Regions from separate parts of the Homo sapiens genome. Here regions 2, 3, 4 and 5 are each linked to region 1. The links are contacts of gene promoters, found by promoter capture Hi-C in human tissues and cell types (Jung and others, 2019). All regions are on one chromosome and are shown on one strand. Each heading gives the region's core, a stretch centred on a gene start or on the middle of the fragment in contact. The rest is flanking DNA. Distances are from core to core; before and after follow the strand shown. Region 1 holds the start of MPPED1 (metallophosphoesterase domain containing 1). Region 2 holds the start of PNPLA3 (patatin like domain 3, 1-acylglycerol-3-phosphate O-acyltransferase). Region 3 has its middle 15 kb from the start of PNPLA5. Region 4 overlaps EFCAB6 (EF-hand calcium binding domain 6). Region 5 overlaps EFCAB6 (EF-hand calcium binding domain 6).

Region 1 (2,700 bases), core at 39-2,538:
CATCTTCCCTCCCTTGCTTTTCCTTTGTCTCTAGCCCCAATGAACTCACATGCCAAGGCCTTTGCATGCCGCATTCCCTCGGCCTGGATGTCTTTTCCAGGCCTTCTCTCCTGGCATACACTCATTCAACTGGGCTGTCCCCACCTCCAGGAAGCCACACCAGATAGCAGTCCTCAGGGGCAGAATAGGCCTGAGGGGCCCGCAGAGGGTGTCCTTGGGGATTGTGTGATGTGTGTGTTGGTGAAGGGAGACCCTACAAGCATTTGTTGAGGGGCTTTGGGCCTCTGAGGAGCCACAGCCCCTTTTCATCTTCCTCTCAGTCTGGGAGGCCCAGGCCAGAGTGATCTGCACCCTAACTATACAAGGCCCTGGAATCCCCGTCCCACCCGCGGCAAGGGGCTGGAAGCCACAGGGCCTTAAACTCCCCAGGGTGACCCCCGACACTGAAGGCGATGGTCTCTGCTCTTCCCAGCAAGGCAGGGCCTCTTTACACTGGGTGTCGCGCCGTCTGAGTTCCTGACTTGTTTACCCATCCCGTTGGGGCTCCGGCCGCTGCAGGCTACCTGCTGTGCCCGGGATTGGGGACCTGTGACTCCCGAGTGGAAGAGATGGTGGCCCAGGAGGAGGACCCCGACCTATTCAGACTGGGAGCTGGGGTCAGAGTGTCTCCGTCTCCGGAGGGGGACCTTCCAGACCCCGGGCGGGAGGGGCCCACAGCAGGGTGCCCCGGCGGCCCCAGGAGGGGGTCCGGGCCTCGGGCGAAGGCTGCGGCGCCCCGGAAGGAGCCGCGCACGCCCCTGCACGCGGTGCCCGCTGCGGAGGCCACGGATCCGGAGGTGAGAGCGCCCCCGCCCCGCTCCCTGCCCAGCCCGCGCGCGGCCCGGTCCGGGGCTGGGGGCGGGCGCCAAGAGGGGCGCCGGGCGCAGTGGGGCGGCCCCCTCCCTTTTCCGCAGCGCGGGCCCCGCTCCTCCTCCCGCGTCCAGGCCCGCGGCCGCGCTCCCTGTCCCTCCGCAGCGGGATGCGGACTCCGAGCCCGGGCGGGGGCCGAGGGCCGAGGCCTGGCGGGCCTGGCGGGGGCCCCGGCGGGTGGCGGCGCAAGGGCCGGGACCGAGGCCGCGAGCGCGCCCCTCCCGGCGGCCGGGCGCGGAGAGGCGGGGAGGGCGGGCGTGGGGAGGCGGGCGGCGGCGGGCGGGGGGAGCCAAGGAGGCTCGGAGCCTCGCGGCGCGCGGGCGGGCGGCGGAGGGGGCGCGGGGAGCCCCCCGCCCCACGAAGGAGGAGTCTGGCTCCCACTTGCAGCCTCGGACGCGCGGCGAGGCGGCCGCCGCCGGAGGAGCCCCCGCCCCTGCGCGCCTCCCTCCCGGGAGCCCCTGCCTCCCTCGGTGCGCGCTGCTGCTCGCAGCCGCCGCGGCCGCCGAAGAGGAGCCCGGGGCCAGGTAGGACCGGAGGCGGGCGGGGCGCGGCGGGCGCGGGCGGGAGGCCGGGCGCGGGGCGCGGCCGGGACCCTCTCCAGGCGCTGGGCGACGCCCGCGGCGCTGCGCAGGGGCGCCCGCAAAGTTACTTTGGCCGCCTTTGCCGGGTGCGGGAAGCGGGCTGGGCACCCCAGCTGCCCCGCCTGCCTAGCGGGCGGCGGCGGGAGGGGGCTCCGCCAGGGCGCGGGACTCCGGCTGGGGCCGCGGGGTCAGCGAAACTTTTCCCTTGCTCGCCAGTCGCTGCTGCTGCTGGCGGAGTAGCTGGTGGAAGCAGCGGGCTGGTGGAGTGCCAGTGATGATGATAGTGGTAACAATAGCAGCCCCCGCTTGTAGAGAGCCTACTGTGTGCGCTGCCAAGCCCCTGCTGGCACTTGGGGGGGAAGAGATAGGGAACGAACGCTGGCCGAGTGGCCACTTTTGCTAGGTATTGCTGGAAACTTCATCCATTTCCTTCCATCCATTCATCCCTCCCTCCCATCCATCCATCCATCCATCCATCCATCCATCCACTCACTCAACACATATTTATTCCTGTCTGCTATGTGCTCGGCCAGGGGATTCAGTGGCTACCTAGACAGGTCCCAGCCCTCAAAGGGAATGTTGATCATGGAATGCCCAAACTAAGGAGCAGTTCTGTCTCCTGTGTGTTTGTTCTGGGACATGTTACGGGAGCGTGAATTCATGCTGTCTCCCTTCACCCTGGCAGGGCCAGAGGCGTGTCATTCAGAGCACTGATGTGCCCAGGAGTCTGGCAGGCCCCGGCCTGGCCTTCGGAACTCACCCTGCTCCTTTCCCTCCCACCTCTCCGGGCTCAAGCTGGGTGGCCCAGTTGGTGTCAGGAGGCTCCACTCCGGAACTGGCCCCCACCCCTGTCCAGCTGACCTCTCTGGGATGTCTCTTCCCCAGTGCTGGGCTGGCCTGGCTCCCAGCTCCCCTCCCAGAGTTTCTTTGCCTTCCCCCTCCCCATTTCCCCTGCTCTATTGAATGGCCCAGAGGAGAGCTTGTTAAGTGGCAAACAATTATGAAATTAAACTGGGGGAACAAAAGTGGGCTGGCTGTTGAATGGCGGAGCTGGCTCACGGGAGTTGAATGGCACTGGGAGACTTGTTAGCAGGGATCTGCGGCGCCGGGGGGCGGGGGCGGGTCAGGCAGACAGGCACTGTCAATAATCTGACTGGACTTTGCAAAAAAAAAAAAAAAATTAAACCAACTTGGTGAGAAACCTGGCACA
Region 2 (2,700 bases), core at 118-2,617, 510 kb after region 1:
AGGGGTAGGTCAAGGTCAAGGGGCCTCTTAGGCATCTCCTAAGGGCATGCTACTATCCAAATGTTTGTGTCCCCACTAAAGGTCATCTGTTGAAATCCTACACCTTAAGGTGATGATCTTTGGAGGCGGGGGCCTTTGGAAGGTGATTTGATGAGAGGGTGGCACCCTTATGAATGGGATTGGTGCCCTTATCAAAGAGGCCCAGAGGTGAGGATGTGGCAAGATGGCACCTTCTACGAGCCATACCTCTCACCAGGGACCAAATCTGCTGGTATCTTGAACTTGGGCTTTCCAGCCTCCAGAACTGTGAGACAGAGAAATAAGCCAGGCGAAGTGGCTCACCCCTGTAATCCCAGCATTTTGGGAGGCTGAGGTGGGTGATGACTTGAGGTCAGGAGTTCTAGACTAGCCTGGCCAACATGGTGAAACCCCATCTCTACTAAAAATACAAAAAATTAGTCAGGCATGGTGGCGCATGCTTGTAATCCCAGCTACTCGTGAGGCTGAGGCAGGAGAATCCCTTGAACCCGGGAGGAAGAGGCTGCAGTGGGCCAAGATCGTGCCATTGCACTCCAGCCTGGGGGGAAAAAGATAGAAATAAATCTCTTGTTTGTAAGCCCCTCCGCTTTAAGGTGTTTTGTTTTCGCACCTGAACGGACTAAGGGACTAAGGGACCAGGAATCATCCAGGCCTCAGCTTCCCAAAGCACTCCCCACTCCCCAGTTCCTACAGGGCCCCGACCCCAGCCCCAGCACCCGTCATTCACATTTTTTACTTACAAAGGAAACTTTGAAATGGACACTTCCTGTTACTTTCATTCAATGAAAAAAATCCCCAGCACTTGAAGGCAATCATACAGAAAGCCTGCAACAACGCAGAGAGTAGACTCTTCAGGTGGTGGTGCCTGCTTTAGGCTGGCTCTCCCCGGGTCAAAAGGGACGTGATAAAGTGTTAAAGTGATGTTAAGGATCAAGTGGGCACCAACTGCGACTCCCCTCCCACCCCCCGACTTAACAGATGTCAAGGAAAACAGAAGGAAGCCGTTTCTCTCCAGGACATGCAGTGTCTGCTGGAGTTTTGGAAAAATGCTTTCTCTCGAGTCGCTGCGGGGAGCTCCCAGGCTGGACCCCCCCGCACAGGTCCTCCGCCATCGCCCTCCCAGCCCCCGCCCCCAATCCCCCTCCCAGACCCGGTCCCCGCCCCCATCCCCCGCCAGACGTCGTCCCCACCCCCATCCCCCTCCAAGCCCCGCCCGGGAGGGCGTCCTGCCCGCTCATTGGGCCTCCCGCCGGCTCATTTGCATGGTCCGAGGGGGGCGGGGCTGACGTCGCGCTGGGAATGCCCTGGCCGAGACACTGAGGCAGGGTAGAGAGCGCTTGCGGGCGCCGGGCGGAGCTGCTGCGGATCAGGACCCGAGCCGATTCCCGATCCCGACCCAGATCCTAACCCGCGCCCCCGCCCCGCCGCCGCCGCCATGTACGACGCAGAGCGCGGCTGGAGCTTGTCCTTCGCGGGCTGCGGCTTCCTGGGCTTCTACCACGTCGGGGCGACCCGCTGCCTGAGCGAGCACGCCCCGCACCTCCTCCGCGACGCGCGCATGTTGTTCGGCGCTTCGGCCGGGGCGTTGCACTGCGTCGGCGTCCTCTCCGGTATCCCGCTGGGTGCGTCTGGGGACGCTGCCCGGGCTCCACGTGCGGAGTGGGTGCCCCCTAGGCCGGGGAGCGGGGGATCCCCAGGGGTCGCGGGGCCCTGGAGGAGCGGGCATCGGACGCGGACACGGCGGGGTGCATCCCGAGGGCCCCCTCCGAGGCAGATGCTTCCTGCGGGGGCGCTGTTCCTGGGCCCGGGAAGGGGGCGTTGGAACCCCGAGCGGTCCGGGCCGAAGCCTGGGACTCTCGTGCGTCCCCACCCCTACCCCCATCAGGCGCCCGTGCATGAAGGGAGACCCTCACCTCCGGACTGAGAGTCGGAGCGTCTCGGAGCGACGGGGAGTAGGGAGCGGGACCCGGGGCGGAGGGTAGTGCTGGCCCCTGCGGACTCCGGGTCCCCTGTGTCCTCTCGGGAGGGGCTGGACGGGCTGAGCTGCCGAGGGGCCGATTTGCCCTGGGCCGGACAAAGAGTGGGGCTTTGGCCGGTCCCCCACGGTGGGCTCCTTCCCTCTGGGGATTGAGGGACTCAAGACACCCCGCGCCTGCGCTTTTCTTTTCTTTTTTTCTTTTTTTTTTTTTGAGACGGAGTTTCGCTCAGTCGCCCAGGCTGGAGTGCAGTGGCGTGATCTCAACTCACTGCAAGCTCCACCTCCCAGGTTCACGCCATTCTCCTGCCTCAGCCTCCCGAGTAGCTGGGACTACAGGCGCCAGCCACCAAGCCCGGCTAATTTTTTGTATTTTTTAGTAGAGACGGGGTTTCACCGTGTTAGCCAGGATGGTCTCGATCTCCTGACCTCGTGATCTGCCCACCTCGGCCTCCCAGAATGCTGGGGTTACAGGCGTGAGCCACTGCTCCCTGCTGCCTACGCTCTCTGGGTCGCAGCCCAGCCTTCTGGGGGCTGGGTAGCCTCCCAGAAGGGCAACCCTGGGCATCCTCCAGGGCAGGCTAACTGGAGTCTAGTGGGGAGGGGTACCTTGAAAGAGGAAAGTTGTTTCCTCCTCCTCCTCCTCCTCCAGTGTTTGGGACCCTTCCTGGGGGCTGGAGTGCATC
Region 3 (2,700 bases), core at 150-2,649, 490 kb after region 1:
TCTGACAACCTGGGTTCAAACGCTGGTTCCACCTCTTAGCTAGCTGTGGGTCCTGGGTACGATGCTCTGGGCCTGAGTTTCCTCATCCATAGAAGAGGGGTAATAGTACCACGGATCTCACGGAGTTACTATGATGAGCATGACACAAAATCCAGGTGCACCTCCTGCCCTCAGTGCCTACGACGTAGCGTGCTGTCACAGTACACGCCGTTATAATTCGTTATTAAAGCCACAATTGTCCTGTGCTACTCTGCTAGAGCTCTTCCTATTTTTGATTATAAATTTATGTGTTTTGGCCACCAACCCAGAAACTTCCAGAAAGCAGGGACCATGAATCCCTCTGGAAAACAGTGTTAATTATAATCTTAGCAGTCACAGTGATTGTAACGCTAGCAGTTACTGTTTCTTGAACATCTACCCCATGCCAGGCGCTGTCCAGCATGTTCTGTGGAGACATTAATGGAATCGTCACAGCGACCCTTCCAGGGAGGAGGTCTCATCCCCACTTCTCAGCCCTGCCCGAGGTCACAGAGCTGTCTGTGGTGTTAAGCTTGCTTCATCTGACCCTGTGGCCAATCCCCACATCCGCCACACCATCTGTCTTCCACGAGGCTGCAGAGACTCAGTAAGTGTTGGATGGAATAATTGTTTATTTTTTGGTGGGGGCTGGGGGTGGGAGCCCAGTGTTTTAGATAATGAGAAAACAGATAAATTCCTGATAAACATGCTCCCAACAGGTCTACAGCGATGTGCTATAATATGTGTCCTTTAAGCTGTAAGAACTAACAGCAGAGCCCAGATGTGCAAGGCCCCCTCAATCTAAGCCCTTAATTATCATTTATTTATTTATTTTATGTTTGAGAAAGGGTCTTCCTCTGTTGTGCAGGCTGGAGTGGAGAGGTGCAGTCATGGCTCACAGCAGCCTCAAACTTCCAGGTTTCTAGCGATCCTCCCACCTTAGCTTCCTAACTAGCTTGGACTACAAGTGCGTGCCTCCATGTCCTGTTAATTAAAAAATAAATTTTTTTAAGAGATGGGGGTCTCACTGTGTTGCCCAGGCTGGTCTCAAGCTCCTGGGCTCAAGTGATTCTCTCTGGCCTTGGCCTCCCAAAGTGCTGGGATTACAAGCAAGAGCCACCACACCTGGTCCTCAGTTTTGTTTTGTTTTGTTTTGTTTCATTAAAAAAAAAAAAAATTCGGCCGGGCACAGTGGCTCATGCCTATAATCCCAGCACTTTGGGAGGCCAAGGCGGGCGGATCATGAGGTCAGGAGATGGAGACCATCCTGGCTAACACAGTGAAACCCCATCTCTACTAAAAATACAAAAAAATTAGCTGGGCATGGTGGCGGGCACCTGTACTGCCAGCTACTCGGGAGGCCGAGGCAGGAGAATGGCATGAACCCAGGAGGTGGAGCTTGCAGTGAGCCGAGATGGCACCACTGCACTCCAGCCTGAGTGACAAAGCGAGACTCCATCTCAAAAAAAAGAAAAAAAGAAATTCACCTCTGTAGCAGCCAGAAGCCTTTACTTTTTAGCACAGAGCAAATGGAAAGTGTGCCTGGGACAGCACGAGGCTTGGAGGTTCTGCAGAGCTACCCCAGGCACCTGTTTCATTTGGTCCTCTGTGTGTGGCTCAGCTGTGACGTTGGAGCTCTGGCCTTCTTATTCCCACTTTATAGGTGGGGAAACTGAAGCAGCAAGGGCGTGGCTCGGCCAAGGCCACACAGTGGGTCTGGGCCAGATCGGAGGCCTCTAATTAGGAGGTCTGGGCCCTAATTGGTGTCCCCTCCCTTTGCCTAGAGTAGTGATTGGGCCCTGCCCCAATGGGTGCCAACCTGTTCGGGTGCCAGGGTGCCTGTTGGTTCAGAGGGTTGGGGATGGAGTTGTTTCATGTCCTGCTGACCCCTCCCCTCTTTCTTCCTACAGGTTGTGCTTCAGGCCCCCCTCTTCCCAAATGGCATCTGAGTCCTGCGGTGGGCTGTGGGCTCTCTCTATACTCATACCAAGCAGCTGTGGCTCCTCCATGGGATGTGGTCAGGCCCTGGGGCACCTGAGAACCCTGCCCCATGTCCAACCTCCTGTGGGGGCTGGCCCAGGGCTCCACAGCAAAACCCAGGCTGCCTCTGAGCCCTGCCAGAAGGTGGGCATCAGAGACGCTTCTGCAGAATGTGGAGAAGATGCAGGGATGGGGAGTCCCCAGGTCCCCGTGAACTGACTTCTCTCGGCTCCACACGACGCAGAGTCTCCGCTCCATGTCAGCCTCAAGGCTGAGACTGGTAAAGTATGATTTCTACCTCCTGCAGTCACAAACCCCTGTAAGAGTTTGAAGAAAGCCTCCGCGGGAAGGAGCATATTTGTCCCGACTCACAATGTTGGGACCACAGCGCCAGGGGAACCTGCGGGGCCAGTCTCCAAAGTCAGCCCAGAACCCCAGTCTGCAGTGAGTGGCTGGGACCTCGCCCCGGTAGACACACTTCTGGGTGTGTTTAAAGAACGCTGGGTGAAATTGACTCCTGTTTTTTCAGACAATCCTCTCTCCAACAGAAGATTATGGCAGTGGATGCCCTTCTGAAGAGGGAAGTGTCCAGAATGGTTGAATGGAGGGTGTCCCCATTTCCGCAGCGACTGTCCCTGCGTGAGTTCTTGAGTTGAACATGTGTCAACTGGATGTCACAAGGGTTCACTTGTCAGGGGGTTG
Region 4 (2,700 bases), core at 33-2,532, 320 kb after region 1:
TTTTTTTAAAGTTAAGATAAATAAGATGTTTGAATTTTTAAAATAAATTTTCTATTATTCAAGCCTTCCACCTGATAAATGGTTTTCTAGATCATTTCTGTGTTATCACATTTCTAAAAATTGATGGTTTTTAAATGTTTGGTTATATTATCTCCATATGTGTTGATTTCTATAATTATCTAATCTCATACTGCTTTCTAAAAATTTGGTAATTATCACTTAAAGTATTTATTTTTCTGTTTTCCAAATTTAACAAAGAGTAATGCCATGTAGTTATTTCAATGCATACCTTTTTTTCCACTTTGATGACTCTTGCCTATTGTTTTAATAAGATAAATGATCTCTAGGTGTGATCGCTGCCAGATGTTAACAGTGAAACTCCCTAAAGAGCTTCATCTTTCATCTACGGTCTCTGTCTTGTGAAAATGAGGTGGTAAGTTTGAGAAACCAGAAGACCCAATTGAGGGGAGAAGGGTATGACTCCAATCAGCTCATAAACCTCTCCAGCGTCACCACCTGGAACTGGGTTTCATTCATCTGCTCAGGCAACAGGCTGAACTGTAGTGATTTGTTTGCTGGTTTTACAAGGCTGCTCATAAATGATTTCACCTATATCAAACACACTGGCCTCCAGGGCAGTGGAGAGTAGGCTGGAGGGAGATGGGAAACACAACACTCAATGGGTTTTGAGATGTCCTGATTAAGTATGGGGCTTGGTGGTAATTGTATCTCTGGCCTCTTGTTTTATGTAGGTTGGAGAGTAGTCTGCTGCCTAAATGGAACAGGTCATCAGAGGGTAAAGGGCATTCACGGAGTCTTTATGATGATGAGATGGTCACTGTGAAATCAGCCCTACTATGTGCAAGCGCATCACAGGCATGTTGTTTACATTTTGTTGAGTCTTCATCCCAGCCCTGAGAGGTGGGCTGCTCAGTCCCCCCTTTTTTTCTTTAAGATGGAGTCTCGCTCTGTTGCCAGGCTGGAGTGCAGTGGTGCGATCTCAGCTCACTGCAACCTCCGCCTCCCGGGTTCAAGCGATTCTCCTGCCTCAGCCTCCCAAGTAGCTGGGACTACAGGTGTGCACCACCATGCCTGGCTAATTTTTGTACTTTTAGTAGAGATGGGGTTTCACCATGTTGGCCAGGACGGTCTCAATCTCTTGACCTCATGATCCGCCTGCCTCAGCATCCCAAAGTGCTGGGATTACAAGCGTGATCCACCGCGCCCGGCCAGTCCCCATTTCTTTAAGAGAAAACTGAGTCTTGACAAGGCCCAGGAGCTACTCTGAGGCCCTAGAACCAGGGAGGAGAGAGCACAGACTTCACCTCCAGCAGCCTGACTTCAAAGCCTGGGCCATTTCTACCACACCAAGAGCCGAATGTTGATATTAAATAGAAAGCTGTTAGATAAAAGAGAGGATTCAAAAATGCATTGTTTCTTGCTCAAAAATAAAAAAGACAAAGTTAATACTGAAGCAGCTTCTCCAGGAAAGAGTATATTCTTGAGCTTCAATAAGAAAAGCATTAAAGCAATTGAAGAAATGGTCTACTTTTGATCTTCTGTGTTTCTGAGTCTAAAAGAAAGCAATTCTATTATGTTCATTTTCTCAAGCCTTATCATGAAAATAGCATTGTTTTTGAGGCTTAAAAAATCTCAAATAAAAATTTGTGGAGTTATTATTCAATACTTATGAGATGGGGAAACAGACAGTAACATTTTTTATAGATTTACTAGGTTGGAGACTGCAGTGCCAAACACAAGGTTTATTGTCAAATAAAACACTGTTTTGTTTTTTGATTGCCTGTTTTAGAAGAGTGCTGCCTCTGTTCTATAATTGCGTGCACAAAATTATTTAATTTGTTTTGTTTGGATCTTATTCTGGACACTTTCCCAGCCGGAAAAGATGTAAAAATTAAAACATCTATTATGTGTTTTATATTCTGAGGTGGGTTATAAAGAGAAAAAAAAAAGAAAAACATACTCAAAAGAGAAACAGATGCTATTTTTTCAAGTCTGCCTGCTTTTCAGGCCCTGCAGCATCAGTGACATGTCACATGCCCTCTAGACTTCCTTGCCTCAGGGGCAAATTCTTCCACTCTGCTTCTAGCAGCAGCCACATTGTCTTTATGAGATACAAGGAGCTACCGGGACCCATTTTCATAGCAACTTAGAACACCAGTGCAATGCGAAAAGCTTGGGCTCCGGGTGAAATGAGGCTTGGTGCTTTTGTTAATGGTCTGGAGCGTATTTAGAAAAGTGTTTGGGAAAAGGCACGAAGAGGGAATGGACCTCTCGGCTGGGTACTGTAGAAATTAAGCTAGACACGGGCCCATCTTCCAGTGGCTTTCACTCAAAACTCATGTAGTCACAGAAGCCAAACATTTGGCTTCTTCTAAATGATGTGGAGTTTATAGGAGGCTCAAAAAAATGCCCGTGCAGGCTTCTGTGTGCTGCCCTTGGAGTCAGGAGCAGGTGGTGGTGGCGTTCAAACACCATGAGGCAGCTAAATGTTCTGCTGTTCGTCACCCTCCTGCCGCACACCCCACCCTCCTGCCGCACACCCCACCCTCCTGCCGCACACCCCTCCACCTCAGCAACAACGGTCCTCAAAGGAAAATTAAGTCTCCATTATTGTATCAGGATGCAGAGCCAACGGGGAGCACAGCAACAACACGTGAATCCTGAAATTTGTCATTCTTC
Region 5 (2,700 bases), core at 186-2,685, 390 kb after region 1:
TGTGACATTCTGATTAAAAAATGAGATAAGCCAAGCACCAAAAAGAAGAATGTTGCATGTTCTCACTCATATGGAGGAGCTCAAAAAGTGGATTTCATAAAGATAGAGTAAACTGGTGGTTAGCACAGGCCAGGAAAGGTAGAGGGGAGGAGAGGATGAAGAGAGGTTGATTAATGGGTACAAATATATGGTCTGATAGAAGAAATAACACCTAGTGTTAGACAGATCAGTAAGGTGACTATAGATTACAATAACCTATTGTACATTTCAAAATAGCTAGAAAAGAAGAATTTGAATGGTTCTAACATAAAGAAAAGACAAATATCTCAGGTGATGGATATCCCAAGTATACTGATTTGATCTTTACAAATTATATGAATGTATTAAATTATCCCATGTACCCTGGAGCTATGTACATGGATTATGCATCAATAAAAATAAATAAAATTTCTTTTAAGAAAGAAAAATAGGGCTGGGAGCAGTGGCTCATGCCTGTAATCCCAACATTTTGGGAGGCCGAGGTGGGCAGATCACTTGAGGCCAGGAGTTCGAGACTAGCCTGGCCAACATGACAAAATCCTGACTCTACTAAAAATACAAAAACTTAGCTGGGTGTGGTGGTGAGTGCCTGTAATCCCAGCTACTCGGGAGGCTAAGGTACAAGAATCGCTTGAACCCAGGAGGTGAAAGTTGCAGTGAGCCGAGATCATACCACTGCACTCCAGCCTGGGTGATCAAGTGAGACTATCTCAAAAGAAAAGAGAGGAGAGGAGGGGGAGGGGAGGGGAGGGGAGGGGAAGGGAAAAAAGAGAAGAAGCAATGCTTCTCCAGGGCATAAAGACTGAAATTCAATTTTTTTTTTTTTTTGAGAGGAGGTCTCACGCTGGAATGCAGTGGTGCAATCTTGGCTCACTGCAGCCTCACCTTCAGGGCTCAAGTGATCCTTGCACCTTAGCCTCAGCCTCCTGAATAACTGGGACTGCAGGTGCATGCCACCACACCTGCCTAATTTTTGTAGAGGCAGGGTTTCACCATGTTACCCAGGCTGGTCTCGAATTTCTGGGCTCAAGTGATTCTCCCACCTCAGCCTCCCGAAGTGTTGGGATTACAGGTATGAGCCACTGCACCAGGCCTGAAATTCAAACTCTTAATTGTGGGGTAGAAGGTCATTCATATAATTAACCACCTGGCTTCAGGTGATCCTTCCAGACGCCATTACCTCCAGGCATGCTACGTTCTTACCCAGTGCTCCCAACACACCACGTAGTTCCTCACTTCTGAGCTTTGGTTCATGCCTGTGCTAGAATTTCCTTCATTCTTTTGCACCTGGCACACTTCAATTAATCTTTCAAAACTGAGGGTATATCCCCTTCCTTCAGGAGACCTTCCTATTGTCCTTAAACAAAATTAATCATGCCTTTACAAAGAACTTAAGTCTTATAGGTGTGCTTTGCTAATTGTTTCATTTAATAAAGAAAAGAACCAAAAGATAAAAGCCACTCGTAATTCCATCACTTTGCTGTGGGGCTGCAGATGTGGTGGGTAAAATATGAAGTAAAAGTTCTAATATTCTCCCATCTGTTCCTCTAGTCCTACCTCAATTTTCACTTTGATTCTCTGCTTCCAGACCTTTATGTTGGCCCCTGCTAGACAATAAGTCCCTCCAGTGGACTCCACTTACCTTTTTACACTCAACATGGCATAGCATGCAGTAAGCACCCCATTAAACTTTGCTCTTGATGGACCACAGTTATCAACACTATGACTGCAAGGGATAGAAGCTTAGGCTAATTTTACCCTTGATTTTGAAAGCTAAACAAGGTTCTGAGTATGACCAAGGCACTGTGAGGAGTTCTGTAGCTCACCCCTGACTTTACACCATCCTCAGCTGAGGTTTTCAAAATAAAGAGAATTTTGAGACATTAATGAATGTGATTACTTCAGAACTTGGTGAGGTAGAAATTGGCAAGGATCATAAAAACTAATACCCCCAAAATAAGCATCAAGTCACAGACCATCAAATACACTTCTTAACCAATGGGAAAAACACAATTAGAAGGCTATCTCACTGATATATTTGTTTATTTGCCAGAGAAGTATTGATGTCCAGTTTTAAACACGTGCTATTTATATCAGAATCATAACAAAAGTGCCATCCATCTGCCTTGGCATCCAGAGAAAACATAATTCAACACAAGAGTAAAAAGTGTGCACAGCCAAATAGAAATGGCACCAGAAGCAAAAATTGCTGGAACTGTATCATGGAGAGGGGTGTGGAAATTATCACTCGACTAAATTGGAAAAAATTGTAAGCAACACAAAAGGTTTTGGCAGTTAAATCCAAACACTTGAGAAAAATCTTCTTGTCTATACTGATATCAAATGGACTGTTATATTTTGGGACATATCAACTATCAAGTTCCCTTTATAGCCTTCCACACACTTCCATATACACATTGGCCATTTACTGAGCATCTACATTCTTGGACGGTGGAAAAATCAAAACCTTTGACGTCAAGCAGGCATAGGGTCAAACTGGCTCCACCATCCACCACAACAACTTGCAAGTTAATTAACCTCCTCCTGACTCAGTTTCCTCATTTGAAAAAGGGAGATACAGTTGTCGTCCATATCCATGGGTTCCACATCCACAGATTCAACAGTGGATTGAAAATATTCAGGAAAAATATGGATGTTGAT

The links. Contacts are between HindIII fragments. The study calls those that stand out against the background at their distance.
Region 2: the fragment with the promoter of PNPLA3 here is called in contact with the fragment with the promoter of MPPED1 in region 1 in 3 of the 25 tissues and cell types used here (H1 embryonic stem cells, IMR-90 fibroblasts and lymphoblastoid cells).
Region 3: a fragment that was not itself captured here is called in contact with the fragment with the promoter of MPPED1 in region 1 in 3 of the 25 tissues and cell types used here (bladder, lymphoblastoid cells and spleen).
Region 4: a fragment that was not itself captured here is called in contact with the fragment with the promoter of MPPED1 in region 1 in 8 of the 25 tissues and cell types used here (IMR-90 fibroblasts, bladder, dorsolateral prefrontal cortex and 5 more).
Region 5: a fragment that was not itself captured here is called in contact with the fragment with the promoter of MPPED1 in region 1 in 2 of the 25 tissues and cell types used here (IMR-90 fibroblasts and dorsolateral prefrontal cortex).

The regions. Positions count from the first base shown.
Region 1 is chr22:43,410,726-43,413,425 of GRCh38, forward strand. It overlaps MPPED1 (metallophosphoesterase domain containing 1), which reads left to right and starts at 1,289. Exons shown (of 7, transcript NM_001044370.2): 1 at 1,289-1,433. The HindIII fragment of the contact is 18,974 bases long and covers 1-2,700 here.
Region 2 is chr22:43,922,438-43,925,137 of GRCh38, forward strand. PNPLA3 (patatin like domain 3, 1-acylglycerol-3-phosphate O-acyltransferase) reads left to right here and starts at 1,368. Exons shown (of 9, transcript NM_025225.3): 1 at 1,368-1,661. The coding sequence starts at 1,475. RefSeq lists enhancers at 1,183-1,927, 1,928-2,670. The HindIII fragment of the contact is 10,497 bases long and covers 1-2,700 here.
Region 3 is chr22:43,905,452-43,908,151 of GRCh38, forward strand. No RefSeq gene overlaps it. Among named protein-coding and RNA genes, the nearest start is that of PNPLA5, 15 kb to the left of the region's middle. RefSeq lists an enhancer at 1-212. The HindIII fragment of the contact is 6,970 bases long and covers 1-2,700 here.
Region 4 is chr22:43,732,776-43,735,475 of GRCh38, forward strand. All of the region lies in intron 7 of EFCAB6 (EF-hand calcium binding domain 6), which reads right to left. Among named protein-coding and RNA genes, the nearest start is that of EFCAB6, 78 kb to the right of the region's middle. The HindIII fragment of the contact is 8,243 bases long and covers 1-2,700 here.
Region 5 is chr22:43,805,413-43,808,112 of GRCh38, forward strand. The region is part of intron 2 of EFCAB6 (EF-hand calcium binding domain 6); the gene reads right to left. Among named protein-coding and RNA genes, the nearest start is that of EFCAB6, 5.5 kb to the right of the region's middle. The HindIII fragment of the contact is 3,918 bases long and covers 1-2,700 here.